Regions from separate parts of the Homo sapiens genome. Here region 1 is linked to region 2. Evidence: promoter capture Hi-C in human tissues and cell types (Jung and others, 2019). All regions are on one chromosome and are shown on one strand. The core of a region is centred on a gene start or on the middle of the fragment in contact, and the rest is flanking DNA. Distances in the headings are between cores, read along the strand shown.

Region 1 (3,425 bases), core at 608-3,107, 380 kb after region 2:
AAAATCCCCGCAAAGGGCTGCGCCTCGGTTCACCCCTCCACTTGCACTTGCCCGCCCACCCTCACTCGGCCTCCGCATCGTCTCCCAAAACATTTCTCAGAATGTGCTTCCCCAGACGTCCCTCACCAGGGCGTCTGCAGATTCCCAGATCCCTGAGTCCGACTTTTTCCTTTCGGTAATTCTTAATACCCAGGAAGTCCGAGAAACAATGGTCTAGACAGTGACTCCCAATGGCTGTGGGAGTAAAGTGGAGGAGGTAGAGGGCTAGGGATAGGGAAGGCAGAAGGCAACGCGGGATCTGGGGAGAGGGGGGCTTGAGTGGTTTTGAAAACATTCAGCATGGGAATCCAGGCTCACGTTTGAGAACCACGCATCGAAGTCCAATTATTTAATAGAACAAACTGTAGCAGGCAAACTCCATGAAAACCTCCTAGGAAGGCCTAGTGACCTGCGCTCCCCCCAGGAACTTCCGCTCCTGACTCCAGGCCAGGACTGCCAGAGAACCTTGCGGCTCTTTTCCTGCTCATCGAAAGGGGGTGTGGCTTTTTAAAAGGTAGAAACACTGATCCTCAACCGTGATTCCCAAACCTGGCTGGCACAAGTCTCGCCTCTACTTTTAGCTCACTCCACGCCCTGGTTTTGGAATCACTGACATAGCCTGAAGGCTGTGGCAGGATTTGCACGATTTTCGTGGCCAGCATCTACTGTGCTCTTTTTCCCAGCCCCTCCCACCTCTGCAACTCTGGCCACTATGGTATCACTGTTACCTTTGCAGGTAACACCTGCAAAGGGCTGAGTGGAAGCCCAGGTCTCCTCACCAAAGCCCTCCGGGTCAGTGAGGCATTGAGGCCAGAGTCTGTGGCTGCGAGGAGCAGGCTAACTCCTCTGGCATGGAGGAGATGCTGAATATTATTTCTTGAAGAAATGGTCACCTGCTATTTTGTTATTTTCACCTGACCAATTCTGTGCCTGCCTGCCTGCCTGCCTGCTCTGATGGTTCAGTGGAGTTCCGATGCTCTGTCTCCAGTTAATTCCCTCAACCGTTAGAATCAAAGTAGTAGTTTTTTCATCCATCCATTTATTCACTCTTTCATGAACTTGAACCTTGTAAGATAAGGAGGGACAGCTTTGCCTGATGACTAGGAACGTGGAGGCAGGCAGGCCTGACTAATTCAGACTCAGGCTGCGTACAGGTTAACTTCTCCGAGCTTCAGTTTCCTCATCTATAAAATGGGGATAATGACAGCTCCTACTTAATGGTATTGTTGCAGGGATTAAAAGGATGATATGGCAAGTGCTTAACAGTCACCTTGTATTATTATTTCAGACACTATGCTAGAAAAAGAGATGTATAAAAAGCATATGAAGACAGGGCTCCTGGCTAGTACTTGGCAGTGAAAGCTGGTCTGAATCAGCAGGGGGCTGGGCAGGTGGGCATGAATGAATAGATAAGAACCCTTTGTAACTACCCACATCCATTTCTATGTAATCACTATGTAAAGTTCTTAAAACCAGTTCTTTATCTTACCTACATTAAATAGCCCTTCCCCACCCTTAATACTACATATACCACAAATCCTTTTGGGAAACAATTTTTCTTTTCAGAGTTAGACCAGAGGTAAATGTCAGCTGCAGCTGAATTCTCATAAAATCCAATTTAGTGGAATCTGAATGAAGTCTGTAAACTTCATAACCCATTATAAAAGATTCCCCAGGCTGGGTGCAGTGGCTCATGCCTGTAATCCCAGCACTTTGTGAGGCCGAGGCAGGTGGATCACGAGGTCAAGAGATCAAGACCATCCTGGCCAATATGGTGAAACCCCATTTCTACTAAAAATAAAAAAATTAGTCGGGCGTGGTGGCGGGCGCCTGTAGTCCTAGCTACTCGGGAGGCTGGGGCAGAAGAATCACTTGAACCCGGGAGGCAGAGGTTGCAGTGAGCCGGGATTGTGCCACTGCACTCCAGCCTGTCGACAGAGCAAGACTCCGTCTCGAAAAAAAAAACCCCCAAAACAAACCCTTATACAACAACCCTATCTAAACCAGCACCCACTCAGACCTCACCCTGCTGTTTTCTCTCCTTTACCTTCCTTTATTTTCTTCGTATCACTTATCACCATCTGTTATGTCATATGTGTATTTATCTGTTCCCTCTACTCAGATGTTAGCTCCATAAAAGGTATGGAGTACCCCCAGTGTCTAGAGCTGTGTCTGACACATAGTAGGCATTAGTAAATATTTGTGGCATGAATAAATTAGCTGATACATCATTGAAGATAGTCCAATGACCTTGCAAATTATTTACAGGTTGTAAATCTTCCTGTCCTAAGAGATCACCCGCCAAAGAGCCATCAGAAGATAATTACAGCTCTTGCCTTTATGAGATGCCTTTCTCTTTCAGCCTCTCTGGGTATCTTTCTCCAGGGCTGTGGCCCAATCTTATTTAATCACAAGATCTTAACAGATACCAACAGGATTGCAGCAGCTACTTAATCTGCCTTCCAAAAAGTGCAGTTCAGCCTCTCCCCGTATAGAGACAGCCAGCCCAAACCAGCTCAGATCATTTCAGTGTCATTGCTCTAATACAGAACTAAAAAGAAATCAGAACTGAGAGTTCTGCCCCACAGTAACATCTGCTTCTAGTTTAGATTTTTGTACAGCCTGAGAAGCTACTCCAGTGAGAAGAACCTGTTTCAATCCATGGGCTATCCTATCCTTCCTCACCAACCAACCCCAGGAGAAGAAAGACCACCTTCTCCCACTGTCACATTTACATGGGGCAAGGTCAGAAATGAGCTTTATAACTAGGAGAAATAAAAGTAATAAAAGCTTAAAGACAAGGTATTTCATATACTAGGGAATGAAAAACGTCTTATAAGCAATACCACACTTTGCCCTACCAAATTAATTTTATTCCAAACGCAGTCTTTTGTTTTTTCTAATTTAAAACAAGCTAGGGAGTTAGTACATTTCTTTTTTTTTTTGGAGACGGAGTCTCACGCCGTTGCCCAGGCTGGAGTGCAGTGGTGCAATCTCAGCTCATTGCAAGCTCCACCTCTTGAATTCAAGCGATTCTCCTGCCTCAGTCTCTGGAGTAGCTGGGATTACAGGTGCCCGCCACCATGCCTGGCTAATTTTTGTATCTTTTTTTTTTTTTTTTTTTTGAGACAGAGTCTCACTCTGTCACCCAGGCCGGAGTGCAATGGCACGGTCTCGGCTCACTGCAACCTCTGCCTTCTGCATTCAAGCGATTCTCCTACCTCAGCCTCCCGAGTAGCTGGGATTACAGGCGCTTGCCACCACACGCAGCTAATATTTGTATTTTTAGTAGAGACGGGGGTTTGCCCATGTTGGCCAGGCTGGTCTCGAACTCCTGACCTCGTGATCCACCTGCCTCGGCCTCCCAAAGTGCTAGAATTACAGGC
Region 2 (3,592 bases), core at 834-3,333:
GATCAGTATATGGCTTTGGAATTCAATCATGTCTGATATGGTAGTATTTCACTACCATTTTCTGACTTTTAGCTTTTATTTTCACCTCAATGTGATTTAAGCAGACCAAAATTTCTAATTCTGCTAATTCTGAAGGGGAAATAGACAAATCTTAAAAGCTGCCTGAAATCAAACTTGATTTAACTCAGTAAGAATGTGAATTATTTGTTCTACTTGGGTGGTTTAATTTAATCGTTCTGAATATGAACAAAAGGTTTTGGATTTTCTAAAGATGCAGTGTTGTTTCTGTTCATCAGGGTTAATATTTCTAACTATATTGCTTGTAGGTGACCCCATTCTGGATTTGTTTGGTTTGGTTTGGTTCCAGTTAAAAGAGAGGACAGGAACTAAATGGGGCTAACCACTTCAGGTGCAGCTTGTGCGAGGGTAGATGGTTCCTGCACACAGAAGTTACCACAGGGGTCAGGTTACTTTCTTCAAATAGCAGATTTCAGTACTTTATCCTCATTGTGGAAACAAGCCAAACCAAATGAACTCTGGAAAACCTAAAACAAATGTACATTTTCCTTTGTGTATGTTTCCGTGGTCCAAATGGCAATATAAATCCAGTCTTTATTCTCCCTTTGTTGTATTTATGCTGAATCTTCCCTTTGCCTTTTCAGGATTTAGGCCTGTAAGAAACTATGCCTGATTCTGTAAAATAAGTGTAAAGAATTATATGTACATCTCTGGATTTTGTGATGAAATATTAAAAATATTGAGCAAGTTGTTGAAAATGCATTACTATTTTGTCTATTCAGAGCTTACTGATTTAAAACAAGTGCTTCCTGGAGAAAAGGCATATTATTTCCTAGTTACTGGAATGGGAGTGGCACCAAAACAGTATATATACATACACACACACACACACACACATATATATACATATGCGCACTTGTTCTCTCGATCATCTCTTAATCCAAAGTATTTAATGTTTTTAAAAATATTACATGAAAAGCATGGTAGTTCTTCAGGCACGGTGAAATCTGGAGGAGAGGAGCGGTGAACAGCTAGCTCTCTTTGAAGACTGGAATGGGGCTGCCCTTCGCGCCTTACCCAGCCTTCCAGCGTACTTGGGGTGTCTTCCCTGCTTTGGCTGAGACGTCCCGGGATTCAGAGAGATACTGCCTTTGCACTGCCTGGAGGAGACCACTGTGGGACCTCTTTACTCTTACCAATAATATAAACACCCTGCACCCCTCCACACACACCCCAGGTTGCACTGTAGGGACAAGAACGAGTGAGTCCTGAGGCATTTGGAACCCTTGAATGGGACGCACAAAGCCCAAAACGCAACAATGTAGATTGACAAGAGTCGTCGGGCAAACTCGGGGGAGGGAGGGAAGGATGTGCAGGGAAGGATGAATTCGGTCCTTGAGACCGGAAAGGTGCTCGTGGGTATCCGCTTCTGGAGGCTTAGGACGTCTTTATGAAGCCTAGGGCAGTAGTGGAACTGCCATCTTTGGAAGGATACCTGACGTGGTAGATCAGAGAGCCGGGAGAGGTGGGGAGCTGTCGGAGAATCTCGGCTGCGCTATCCCTCCTGGGCTTTTGCGATGCCAACGCAGGCGTCGACGACTGCAGTTTCCCTGAAATAGTCGGAGCAAAGGAGAGAAAAGCCCAGTTCTTTCACCTTGGAGTGGCGAGAGAAAGGCACCTAGAAGCTCGAGGGCGGGGACGGCAGAGGGAGCCAGCGGCCGGGGGTGGGCCAGGAGCACTGCGGGGCGCAAGCCCGGGTCAGTTCTGCGCGTTGGGTTCGCCCACTTTCTGAGCGCCTGCGAAGAGCGGGGAAGCTCTGGCGCGAACCCGCAGGCCCCGCCCGAGGACGCTCGCGGGGCGAGCCCCCAGCCCAGCTCGAGCCGCCCCGGCGCCTGCCACTCCCTACTCAGAGCCCCTCCGTGAGCGCGCCGCTGCCCACCGCCTCCAATCACCACTCTGCGTGGAGCGCTTTAAATATGCAAAGACACGTCACGTTGTGTGAACCGGGATCGGTCCGTAGGGGGGGAGCCAATATCTATATAAACGTGTCCAGCGTGGGCCAAGAAGGGTTAAACGACTGGAGGAGGGACAGGTGGGGCGGGGGTCTGCAGACCAGGTTGGCAACACTGGTGAGTTGCTCTTCTTTCGCCCTCCTTCCCTTCTTCTATCCAAAGGGTGCTGAGCCCGGGAGGAGGTGGGAGGTGCCCCGCGGAGCCGGGAGTGAGCGTTCCCGAGGCAGCAGGCACCTTCGAGAGGGACTGGCATTTGGGCCCAGGAGCCAGGAAAAAGTCCTGAGCGTGCCGGCCTCGAGGAAGGCACGTTCCCTAAGGGCGCACGGTCACTGCAGTCTTTCACCGTCCGTCTGTTTTTAGAACAGAGTTCTGGCCTGAGCTTATAAATCTCGGGCTTTGCCCCCAAACCCCAGGCCTTTTGCGGACGGAACAGGTGAGCACTGCGCACTGCTCGCGCCCCGGTTCTTGCGTCCCCTGCTCTCCCTGCGCTCTGAGCGGCCTGGCCCCCGCGGGCTCATCATGTTCCCTTGGGGGCTGAGCTGCCTGTCAGTGCTGGGGGCGGCGGGCACTGCTCTCCTGTGCGCGGGCCTGCTGCTCAGCCTGGCCCAGCACCTCTGGACCCTCCGCTGGATGCTGAGCCGGGACCGGGCCTCCACCCTGCCTCTGCCCAAGGGCTCCATGGGGTGGCCCTTCTTCGGCGAAACGCTGCACTGGTTAGTTCAGGTGAGCAGTCCTTCGACCCCGAGCGCTAATACGGTCCCTTCTTCCCCCGGCTCCCACTGGACCCTCCTCAGTCTCAATGCCCATGGGATTTGTAGCCAGTCCCTGCCCATCGCCCACGACCCCGGGAAGCGCGCACAACTCTCGCCTTTACCTAGATACTCCGTTCCCTCGAAGGGACCTCAAGTCACTGGAATTCCCCCCAGAGCAACTCCCAGACACAACGCAGGGGGTAAACATAAGGGGTTTTAGGAAGGGGTCTGAGGAGCACGTCCTGCAAGGGTAGAAAAGGAGCCTGGAGCTTGGCCCAGCTGTGAGCCCTTGGGCCCTCACTTCTTCACTCTGAGTCTGTTTCCTCATCTCACCAATAGGAACAGGAGCATGTACATTCCCGTAGAGTAGATACCAGGCCCACTGGGGATCTTGTTTTGTAAACGCGCCAGCCAGGGACAGGAAGTTGTGATCAAAAGGCAGCTGGAAGGTCTGGGTCAGATCCCAGCCCAGGCCCAGAAGTTCCAGCTCTCCACCCTCCGCCTCGCCCGCAGGGCTCGCGCTTCCACAGTTCTCGCCGAGAGCGCTATGGGACAGTGTTCAAGACGCACCTGCTGGGCAGGCCAGTGATCCGCGTGAGCGGCGCGGAGAACGTGCGCACCATCCTGCTGGGCGAGCACCGCCTGGTGCGCAGCCAGTGGCCGCAGAGTGCGCACATCCTGCTGGGCTCGCACACACTGCTAGGTGCGGTCGGCGAGCCGCACCGGCGGCGGCGCAAGGTGAGTGGAAACGGGAATGGACCGTAGATACGTCGGATCCGCGGTCCCCGGCATCTGCCATGGGCCAGGCCG

Evidence for each region. Contacts are between HindIII fragments. The study calls those that stand out against the background at their distance.
Region 1: a contact is called between a fragment that was not itself captured here and the fragment with the promoter of CYP26C1 in region 2, in 2 of the 25 tissues and cell types used here (mesendoderm cells and thymus).

Annotation. Positions count from the first base shown.
Region 1 is chr10:93,438,418-93,441,842 of GRCh38, forward strand. All of the region lies in intron 3 of MYOF (myoferlin), which reads right to left. Among named protein-coding and RNA genes, the nearest start is that of MYOF, 42 kb to the right of the region's middle. The HindIII fragment of the contact is 8,673 bases long and covers 1-3,425 here.
Region 2 is chr10:93,058,715-93,062,306 of GRCh38, forward strand. CYP26C1 (cytochrome P450 family 26 subfamily C member 1) reads left to right here and starts at 2,084. Exons shown (of 6, transcript NM_183374.3): 1 at 2,084-2,753; 2 at 3,296-3,520. The coding sequence starts at 2,550. EXOC6 (exocyst complex component 6) reads left to right here. Exons shown (of 22, transcript NM_019053.6): 22 at 1-776. RefSeq lists an enhancer at 2,102-3,011. The HindIII fragment of the contact is 7,111 bases long and covers 1-3,592 here.